4 separate regions of the Homo sapiens genome follow, and regions 1, 3 and 4 are each linked to region 2. Evidence: promoter capture Hi-C in 16 types of primary human blood cells and fetal thymus (Javierre and others, 2016). All regions are on one chromosome and are shown on one strand. Each heading gives the region's core, a stretch centred on a gene start or on the middle of the fragment in contact. The rest is flanking DNA. Distances are from core to core; before and after follow the strand shown.

What was found. Contacts are between HindIII fragments. The CHiCAGO score rates a contact against its expected background, and 5 or more counts as called.
Region 1: a contact is called between a fragment that was not itself captured here and the fragment with the promoter of ACVR1C in region 2, in 1 of 17 cell types (activated CD4 T cells). The highest score is 5.6, in activated CD4 T cells.
Region 3: a contact is called between a fragment that was not itself captured here and the fragment with the promoter of ACVR1C in region 2, in 11 of 17 cell types (activated CD4 T cells, naive CD4 T cells, total CD8 T cells and 8 more). The highest score is 12.5, in activated CD4 T cells.
Region 4: a fragment that was not itself captured here is called in contact with the fragment with the promoter of ACVR1C in region 2 in 1 of 17 cell types (total CD8 T cells); the score reaches 5.4 in total CD8 T cells.

What each region holds. Positions count from the first base shown.
Region 1 is chr2:157,268,466-157,271,165 of GRCh38, forward strand. The region is part of intron 1 of GALNT5 (polypeptide N-acetylgalactosaminyltransferase 5); the gene reads left to right. Among named protein-coding and RNA genes, the nearest start is that of GALNT5, 12 kb to the left of the region's middle. The HindIII fragment of the contact is 1,406 bases long and covers 727-2,132 here.
Region 2 is chr2:157,627,507-157,630,206 of GRCh38, forward strand. It overlaps ACVR1C (activin A receptor type 1C), which reads right to left and starts at 1,358. Exons shown (of 9, transcript NM_145259.3): 1 at 1,066-1,358. The coding sequence starts at 1,138. RefSeq lists a silencer at 1,073-1,302. The HindIII fragment of the contact is 11,498 bases long and covers 1-1,878 here.
Region 3 is chr2:157,299,150-157,301,649 of GRCh38, forward strand. GALNT5 (polypeptide N-acetylgalactosaminyltransferase 5) reads left to right here. Exons shown (of 10, transcript NM_014568.3): 6 at 399-516; 7 at 1,527-1,850. It also overlaps the pseudogene RN7SKP281. Among named protein-coding and RNA genes, the nearest start is that of ERMN, 25 kb to the right of the region's middle. The HindIII fragment of the contact is 4,525 bases long and covers 1-2,500 here.
Region 4 is chr2:157,349,701-157,352,400 of GRCh38, forward strand. No RefSeq gene overlaps it. Among named protein-coding and RNA genes, the nearest start is that of ERMN, 25 kb to the left of the region's middle. The HindIII fragment of the contact is 746 bases long and covers 1,009-1,754 here.

The DNA.
Region 1 (2,700 bases), core at 180-2,679, 360 kb before region 2:
AGCATGAAGCTCACAAAATATTTTTACATCCATTATCTCATCAAATCTTCACCACTGTTCTGTGATGAAGGCATTGTAATCTTCATCCTAAAAGTGAGGAAACTAAGGTTCTAGGGGCCTAACTGACTTGCCCATGGCCATAGGGCCAATAAATGCTAGAATGAACTAAAAACTTAGTCTCTTGTCATCTTTCTCAAGTCCAGAGTCTTTCTGTCCACCACAGTAGTATGTCAGCTAAGTGCAGGATAGTGAAACTCCCCACATTAGAGGCCCCATTTGTTTTTAGAACTTGGATTGGCTGCAGTAATCTAAGCCTAGATTCCCCCCCAAGACAAAGAGATTGGATTAATTTTTTAAGTATAGCATGGGACCAGTAGACTCTAAATACCTAATTTGTATAATAAATAGGCATATAGAATATAAATGTGATTTCTTAGCCTCAAAAAAGTTACAAACCTAGAAATATCTGGCATTCAAATTAGACTTTAGCAGCAATTTCTCCTCCCATGATATAGGCAGAAATTAAGGAAAAACTGAAATAAAGGAAACTTGCTTGAATTAGGTTGGTGTAGGATAACTTGAAATGGTTTTTACAACCTATGCCAACTAGATGACATAGTGTCTGCCCAGAATATTCTCCATTCTCCTCAAGCCCCTACCCTATTACATTAGCAAGTAACCTTTCTTCCAGTATGAAAGACTAGAGTAAGAGTTTAAAATGCTGAAAGCTTTGCGGGGGTTTCCCACTGTTCCTTTGAACAAAACAAGCACACTAGTTTTGCTAGATACCCGGAAACATGTTTAATCTGTTTAGTAATGCAGGAGAACAGGTCTCTGTAAATGTCAGAGTGCCTTGACATGTCAGTCACCCCAAATCAAGGCACACCCTGAAACTTTGTATTGGAAATCTCAGGCATCTCTTTTGGGTCCCTCTTTCCCATCCTGTAATATTGCTTTTACCAGGCACTAATATGATCTGTACCATATAATCTTCCACAGAATTTCTTCATTGTAATTCTTTAAACACATCTAAGATATATATTTGTCAACAATTGGCAGAGGTACTACTTATTTGCTGGGATATTAGCATCTAGTGGAATCTCTCATGATCTGCCCATGTAGGGTACTAATAGTGAAATTAAGGCACCATGACATAATCGGGGGAATAGAGGATTAGATATTTGGTGATTAGAGGTGTCTTCCCCAAATCTCTCAAATTTCTGAGAATTTTTCTTACCTCCAATTTTAGACTGTCTAGCACTTTTTAGAACTTCCTTCTAAAAAGGACAAAAACTCTACTAATTTAAAATATAGGAAGAGTCATTTGCATGAGCCTGCTTAGTTAACTCCTCCTGATACAATTCCTTTTGTCACTGGATGTTTCTCAGACCAACCAAATTTTAACCATAAAGCAACTCTCAGGACTTCACAGCCGGGCTTGTTGGTTTATGCCGAATTTGTGTAATTGATCCTTTCTTTTCAGAACTGATTTGATTTTTTTTTCAGCACCAAATACCATTAAAAAAAATGTAACTGTGAAATGTGAATTTCTCATTAATTTATATTATAAAGTTAGAGATGAGGAAGTCATAGGCTGTAGCTGTTTTCTTCTGTACCCTCCCTTTCACTCAGGCTATTAAACTCCCCTTAGCTTTACTTCCTCTTTCCCTGACCCAGAGCCCATGCCGGAACATTCAACCACCTTACACCAGTCCCCTCAAACCTCACTACCCATTCTCTTTCTACCTCATGTGCTCTGATATCCCTTAGACTCATATTAATCCAGCAATTTGCTTTATCTCTTCTTACACGCAGGCTGGCAGGCACTGGTGGAGCAAATCATATATTGAAATTTCATAAAATTTTGGCATCTCCAGTTTCAGGAAAGTGCTCACTGCCCCTCTGAAATCCTAGCTAGCTGGCCAGCATTCTCTCCCATTGCCCATAGTATCTGTCCAAAATATTCTCCATTCTCCTCAAGCCCCTAGCCTATTACATTAACAGATAACCCTTCCTCCAGTATGAGCTATGAATATTTTCAACTTCTCATCCCATGTGCATAAATATATTTGTATACGTTACCACCTTTTTGTACTTTCTATCTCAAAGGGAAATATTTCTTCCACTATTTAAGCTTTAAGTTCCATCTCATCTCCATCCATTCATTCATGCATTCAATACATATTTATCAAATATTTATTGTGTAACTGTGCTGGAAGCTTGTGGTACTGTAGTAAGCAAGGCAGATTTGTCCTACCCTCAGAAAATTTTGGATGCAGAAGATAAGGAAATAAGATTGATAGATGAATGCTGTGACAGAAACACAATAATAGAGAATAATAAAAGAATAGTTAATTTTGAGAGGGTAGGCCAGGTGCAGTGGCTCACGCCTGTAAACCCAGCACTTTGGGAGGCTGAGGCGGGTGGATCACAAGGTCAGGAGATCGAGACCATCCTGGCTAATATGGTGAAACCCCGTCTCTACTAAAAATACACAAAAATTAGCCAGGCGTGGTGGCAGGTGCCTGTAGTCCCAGCTACTCAGGAGGCTGAAGTAGGAGAATGGCGTGAACCCGGGAGGCGGAGCCTGCAGTGAGCAGTGATCACGCCACTCCACTCCAGCCCAGACTCTGTCTCAAAAAAAAAAAAAATGTGAAAGCGTTGTCAGAGACGGCATCTCTATGAAGGGAATATTTAAGA
Region 2 (2,700 bases), core at 108-2,607:
AATCTGTACATGACAGCAATCATATCATTCAAATCATTCTCTTGCACATGTCACTAAGAGGAAAACGACCCACCATGAATATAGCTATTAATGTCAAACAGATTGTCATCTGGGAAAACAAAATGCATCAAAATCAGCTTCGGACAAAACACAGCTCTATGGGAAAACACCAGATTTTTATGTGCAAATGTCTTCAATGTCTGATAGAAATTTTTAAAGAATGAGTTAGCAAAGAATCTGCTCCTCCTCTGCATAATCCAGGACAATGTAATGAAAATAGTTTTCGAGGTAAAGGGCTTTTAGTCACAGCATATTATGATTTTACCAAAGATGCATTTGCCCCACTTTCTAGTAAACATTATAAAGAAACGTCTGGCTTCTAGATTGGGTAGAGGGCTCTATTTAGCCTATCAAGGCACAGACCTGTTATAAACTCTGGGGCGCTTGCCAGAATTTTTTTCCCCAGGAACTCTGAGTAAAGATCGTACCTCGAAAGCAATGTGCGTTGCAAACCACACAGATTTAAGCTCCCACTCTCGCCTCCATAGCTTGGCATCTGCGGCTTTTGGGGTATTCCCCGCCTCCTAAAACTCAGACTAAATCACCACCTCCCACCACCACCATGCCACCATCCTTGAGCAGCTCTCAGGGGCTTAGCACAGAGCGCGTCCGACGCATACCTGCAGCCCTCCAGGTCCCTGCAGGGTGAACCCAGCTCCCAGCCATGCGCGCACCCACAAACGCTCTCCTATTTTCTCCGCTGCAAACTGCCCACAAATTAGTCACCCACCTCACCCCTACTACTTATTCCCCCACGTCCCTGCTGCCTTTTCCCTCTTCCGGGCGGCTTCGTCCCCAACACACCTGTCTACCCCTACGGCTGCCAGACGTCAGGTGCCCACGCTGCACCCTATCCCGCGCCCCCTCAATCCGACTGGCGCTTCCCTGTCCGCCCCGAAGGTCAGTTTGCTCGGAGCACCCCCTGTCCCCCACCCCCGTGCTCACCCGCAGACCTCCTCCCAGCTCCCACCCTCGCGGGCGTCGGGAGAGAAACCAGCACCGTACCTGGCGAGAGCTCGGCGGCCGCTGCGAGCAGCAGGAGAGCCTGGCGGAGCGCTGAGCAGAGCGCCCGGGTCATCGCCACCAGGCGGCCGCGCCGGGGCTGCGAGGCCCCAGAGCAGAGCGAGGCAGCCGGGGCAGCACGGCCCGCTTTGAAGTTCCCGGGCCGCGGGAGGGGAGCGCGGCACCGACACCCTTTTGAAGTGCGCGGTTGGCTCTAGTCAGTGTGGGCGCCCCCCTCCCCGGCCGCCCCCATCCCACGCCCCCTGCGGCTGGCGGTGCGCGGCGCTCCTGCCACTGGCCCCGCAGCCGGGCGGGGAGCGGGTGGTGGGGCGGGCGGCAGAGCCCGCCCCTGCCGCGCCTCCGCCCCCTGCGCCCTCTCGCAGCCGCCCGGGCCTGCTGCTGCAGGGCAGGCAGGCAAAGGCGGCCCTGTGCCCGGCAGTGAGATCGCCCAGAGCTGGGGCGAAGAAAGAGGGGGCGTGGGGAAGCAGTGCGGAGCCTCCGGGACTAGATACTCAGGAATGGGGCTTCTCACGGGAGGAAAAGCCCCACTGAGACTTTAGGGAAACTTCAACTACGCGGCGATTGCGCCCAGGTGATCCGCTCTATAACCTCCCGCAGAAGAGCCAGCCTCCTAGCTCTCCTGACGTTTGTTGTCCAGGGTCCTTAAGTCCAACCAGGTTGCGCTGTGAGAGCCCCGCGGGCTTCCTACTGGCTTGTCCCACCCCTGCGTCCTGGCCATTTGTGCCTCTGGGGAAGGGCGCCCTCTCTGTTCATCCCTGGAAATGACCAGTTGTCCGACTGCCTTCTGGACCTATAAGCTTTGGTTTAACAAACTTCATCTCTTCTTGGGTGCCTTTTGGGAACCCTTCCCTCTATGAATGGCGACCAAAGCTGGACCACCTGCGCCAGGTGATGTGGCCATCTACAATGTGTGACCCACGTCTGGTGGTAAAAGACCTCACCTATGGAAGATAATTTCGGCAGCTACAACTTCAGCAATTGAAGAACTAAGGGAACATACACACACACACACACACACACACACACACACACACACACACACGGATTAAGGGAAGGGGAAGAATTGTTTAAAGTAGTATATGAAAAACTTGTTTGAGTATTGTTTAATCCCTAGAGGCTAACTGTCAAACGGGTGCCTGAAAATATAAGGCCTGGATTGTGCCTGAAAATATAAGGACAACGGCAACATTACCAATTTATAGAAATTAAATTCAATTCACCTATGGAGCCTGAACATTAAAGTGAATGGGATTATTTCAATCTGAACAACGCGAAAAAGCAAGAATACAATACTGGTGTTATTACTACTGTTGGGGGTTCCTTGAAAAGTGATAGCGTCATAAAAATTGCTTTAGAGTAAAACATTTCTTGCTTCTTCACCTAGCTCAGGACTAAATTATATGCTAGGTGTTCTAAGTTCTATGAAAGACCTATGGTGAAATGTTGTATGTAATTGACTTTATTATCAAAGGATCACAGTATGGGAGATGAGATGGTTGTTGGACTTTGAGATGTGGGTGGCATCCTGAGGATCTTTTCTGCCACCATCTTATATTCCTAAGCACAAAAAAACTTTGTTCTTGTTTTATCCTGGATCCAAACAAACAAAAAACTGGA
Region 3 (2,500 bases), core at 1-2,500, 330 kb before region 2:
CTCACATCCAGTGTTGCAGATTCTTAATAATTGCACACACAAGATTTTTTGTGAAGTCTGGGCTGGAATATATATATAATACTTACAATAGTGCCTGATACTCCCTTAGCCCTGAATAAGTGTTAAAAATAACATTCCTGGACAGTTTGTGTCACAGTATAAAGGACAAATAATACTAGTTCCAGGATGCATCTTTGCTGAACCTAATCTAGCTCTGCCACCATGATCCAGGGATCGCATCACTTAAGCCCTATTTGTGACTCCATCCCAGGGCTTCCCTGCATCAGGTAGCTATTCTGAAAAGCCTCCTACCTCCCGTACAGATGTACAGAGGAACAACTCTAAAAGTCGAGCTTTCATGAGATGCAAGTTTAAAAAACAAACTTTTCTTTTTGTAGGTGCCCTGTCATGGCTGGTGGATTGTTTTCTATTGACAAAAGTTACTTTTTTGAACTTGGAACATACGACCCTGGCCTTGATGTTTGGGGTGGGGAAAATATGGAGCTCTCATTCAAGGTATTACCAGGTGTTTCCCAACTTTTCTTTACGATAATGAGTTAATCAATTTTAAATGGTTTGATTTTACTACCATAATCAGGTATGTGACTGCCACTGAGAGGAAATTTCACAGAAATTTTAGGGTCTCTGGATTAATTTTTTCATATCTCAGATTGAATTTGGAAGAATCAATTGCTGTCATAAAATTTATTAGCATTCCCTAATATTTCACAACACCATTTCTGCTTATAAATATGGGGGAAATGACTTTCTGCCACTCAGAGTAAATGCTGTGGGAGTCATACGTGCTACAAAATAACTCTCCTGGAACATCTGTCTAGAATGTTGGAAGGAATAGACTCAATCTGTAATGGATCATCTTAGAGAACACAAATGACAGAAGTACATTAAAATACCTCTAAAGCAGGTCACCAACAGGTCAGGTGTGCCTTATAGTACAGCTCCTTTGGGCACTTTATACAATCTATTATACAATCATTGATTAACTTCTGAGAAAGCCTTGGCAACAGCAGTAGTAGAGAGTGTCCAAAAAGTAATTGCTTTCCTATTGGGTGGGTGTTCTGTATGTATGTAAAAGGGTGTAATTTTGGAGCTGCTGATCATGAAGGATGGTTTTGAGTTGTGTTCCACAAGCCTTTTGGTTCTTCCCAAAAATGAGAGTAGAGGAACGTGAACAAATGGACATCTATACTTCTTTCCCTGATTCAATCAAAACAAGAACTCATGTTTTACAAAATGGGATTCTGTGAAGATTTATTTACAAATTAAAAAAAACTTACATTGAAAGTTAGGAAAGAAAAAATTACATTTTACTAATCCTAAAATGATCCACAGCAATACACAAAATTAAATAAGCCTGTTGAGTTTGATTTTCTATTGCAAAAGTGTTTTTGAAGTTGAGTATTACTTCAGGTAGGGGGAAACAAGGTGGTTTCTTGTCATTGTTAAGTGCCGATGATTTGTGGATAATCATTTGATAATTGATGCTTATCATCAAATTCTTCCAGGTGTGGATGTGTGGTGGTGAAATTGAGATCATTCCCTGCTCCCGAGTGGGCCATATATTCAGAAATGACAATCCATATTCCTTCCCCAAAGACCGGATGAAGACAGTGGAGCGGAACTTGGTGCGGGTTGCCGAGGTCTGGCTGGATGAGTATAAGGAGCTGTTCTATGGCCACGGAGACCACCTCATCGACCAAGGGCTAGATGTTGGCAACCTCACCCAGCAAAGGGAGCTGCGAAAGAAACTGAAGTGCAAAAGTTTCAAATGGTACTTGGAGAATGTCTTTCCTGACTTAAGGGCTCCCATTGTGAGAGCTAGTGGTGTGGTAAGTTCAAGTGGCAATTTAAAATCTTACTCCATAAAAACAAAACACAAAATCTCTTTCAAAAATGTGTGGAAAGAATGAGTAATTACATTATAAATAAACACCAAGTATGAGCAAAGATGGGACAAAGCATGGCTGAGAATTAAATATAGGTAAACTTGAGGAAGGCTACCAAGTGGTCATGTTCATTGATTAACTCAACAGATATCTATTGAGTATCCGTAGATCTGGGAGTATTTCAGACTTGGATTACAGGGTGATGAATGAAGTAGACTTGGTTCCTTCCTTGTGGAGCTTAATTTGGGTAGAGAAGAAAGATTATAAACAAATAAGCAAGTCAAGTGTAAATACAAAATATAATAGCTCTCATTTAGGGAACAGGCCACAGTTGATGACTCCTCAGTTAGAGTGGCTGAGAAATCCTCTCTGAGAAGGAGACTTTGTAACTCAGGCCTAAAACACTAAGTGTCAGTCAGCCAAGCTCTAAAGAAGAGTGCTAGGCAGAGGGTAAAGGTCACGTAAAGCCCTAAGACAGGTGAGTGTTCTCCATCCAAGCACTGGAAAGAAGACGAATGTTGTCAGGGTGTGAAGGAGGGAAGAATGGCACCAGATGAAGGTGAAGAGGAAGGAAGGAGCCAGATCACACAGGT
Region 4 (2,700 bases), core at 132-2,631, 280 kb before region 2:
CTCCCATTTCTTTTTCAAATGAATTAATTGAAATAAAAAGAAATAATTTGTTTTAGATAATAACTAAATGTATTACAGGTGGTTTGAGGTTTGGCAAAAATTATGAAGTTATTATATGAAAGACTGAGGAAACATTCGATAATGTAATATACACATTTTAATCTATTTGCCTATTATCAATGAAGTTATATTTTTATTAATTATTATTAAAAAATAAGTCTCTGAAAAATTTGTGCTTTACAGGTTCCTAAGCCTGATTCTTGAAGCCTCTCACACAGAAGTTTTAAAAGATTCCCTAGTAAATAATAAAAAGAAAGTTTGCATTTGATATCTGACTTTTATTTCCTCTAGGTTAGGGGTAATATCTACCTTCTTTATATGCTCTACAGCATCTATTAGAAGGCTGAGTGCACAAGTGTTTTTAAGTAAATATTCAAATGTGCTGAATTGACATTTAGGTGTGTCAAAAATGTTTGTGGGTGATATATGTGTGCCTCCCCTGCTCTTCTCAAAGTACCTCCAGCTGTTAATACTACCAGAGCAATTTCCACCCAATTTCCCTCTCAACTCTGAAGTTATAGCTCAGATAATGTGGCGACCAGTCTGAATCACAGAATCTTTAGCTATTTGTCATTTCCATAATGTCTGCCAGCATCTTGTAAGCTGGCTGTGTGATGTCCAAGACCAGATAAAGGAATTGCACTTTTCTCCATAGCTTATATATGCTAAGTCCCTTTACCACACTATAATTGTCTTTAATTTTTTCCCAGTTCAGTCCCTGCTCTCCAATGCCATGACAACACACATCCTATAAAGAGAGTCTTTACAAATAGTCATGAGATGAGGACTTTTGACATTTCTCTTCAGGGATCTTATCCACATCCATTTTCTCTGCCTGTTGGTTCTTGACATTTTAATGTCTGAAGAGCTTACATTCTATATAACCAATAGGAAGGGGAAAATAATATCTTTACCTTCTGATCACAAAGAAAGTTGTTCAAAGTCCTAAGCTTAATACAGTACGCAAAATGTTTCCAGAATTCTTGAGTGAGGCATTCCAATATTCATGAGAAACATTATTTACCATTACAGTATCTAAAGAGGAACCCAAAGTCTGCAGAAGTAGGCAAGTTAACACTAGATTTAAAATTTTCTGCCCTTTAAGCTGTGTTTGTAGAACCCACACCAATTCCATTTGATTAGCATCTTCTCTAAATCTATGTAATCCTCTCAACCTGTTCTATACTTTTCCTTTATCTCTGACTCTTGGTGTTAAAGTCCTTAATTAAAAAGTAACACAGATGACTGACAAGCACATACATATACATACACAATTGGCTAGAATCCAAAATTCTAACATTTGTCTGGCTTGCTAGGTTGTCCACTGGAGCCTAGATTTTGAACCTTTTGAATATCAGGCTGGCTGACTGCCAACTGATGGTTCAAACATTCAACCAGTCTTCTATCTAATCTGCCCTCAAGAAGGAATCTGGGAAAAGCCAAAACCTGATTTTCCCTTTATATATGAATTCTCTCATCATCCTCCAAGCAGCCCAATAAGATAGGTCTTATTAACTGTATCATATGGAGTAGGAAACCTGAGATTAGAAAGTTAAATAAGTTGCTCAAGGTCATGGAACTAGTGAAGGGCAGAGTGTGGTTAAAAGTCAACTCTGTAGGATGAGAAAATCCATTTGTTTCTATTATACCAACCAGCTCCACAATGGTGTTATTCAAAAAGCTAATCTTAAGAAAGCTTTAGAGTAGTAAAGAAATATTAACTTGCCTTTAATATTAGCTTATCACTTGCTCTAGGAAGCCACTATTCTTCCTCATCTGTCCAATCAGATACTTGACTCTTAACAGCTGTAAAATATCATCTCTGGCAGCTTTTGATGATAAAACAACTCCAACGTTCAAATGCTACTGCTGTTGCTTCATGCAGGTGTACCTTGTTTTATTGTTCCTCATTGTATTGCTCTTTGCAGATATTTCTTAGAAATTGAAGGTTTGGGAAAATTCTGCATGGAGCGAGTCTATCAGCACCTCTTTAACAACTGTTCTCACTTCATATCTTGCCTCTGTGTCATACTTTGGTACTTCTTGCAATATTTCAAAGTTTTTCATTATTATTATATCCGTTATGGTGATCAGTGATCTTTTTTGACTGTTTGTTTGCTTTTTTTTTTTTTGAAAACTTGAGACAGGGTCTCACTCTCTCACCCAGGCTGAAGTGCAGTTGCACAATCACAGCTCACTGCAGCCTCAACCGCCTGGGCTCAAATGATCCTCCTGCCTCAGCTTCCAGAGTAACTAGGACCACAGGGTATGCACCACCACACTTGGACAATCACTGATCTTTGATGTTACTATTGTAATTGTTTTGGGGTGCCACAAACAAACTGTACCTGTATACGACAGTGAACTTAATTGATAAATGTTGTGTGTATTCTAACTGCTCCACTGACGGAGGAGCAGGCGGTGAACTTAATTGATAATGTTGTATAAGACGGTGAAGTTAATTGATAAATGTTGTATGTATTCTAACTACTCCACTGGCTGGCCATTTCTCCCCTCCCCACAACATATCCTTGGGCATCCACAATTCCCCAAGACACAATGGTACCAAAATTCAGCCAATTAACCCTACACTGGCTTCTAAGTGTCCGAGTGAAAGGAATAGTCTCTCACTTTAAATCA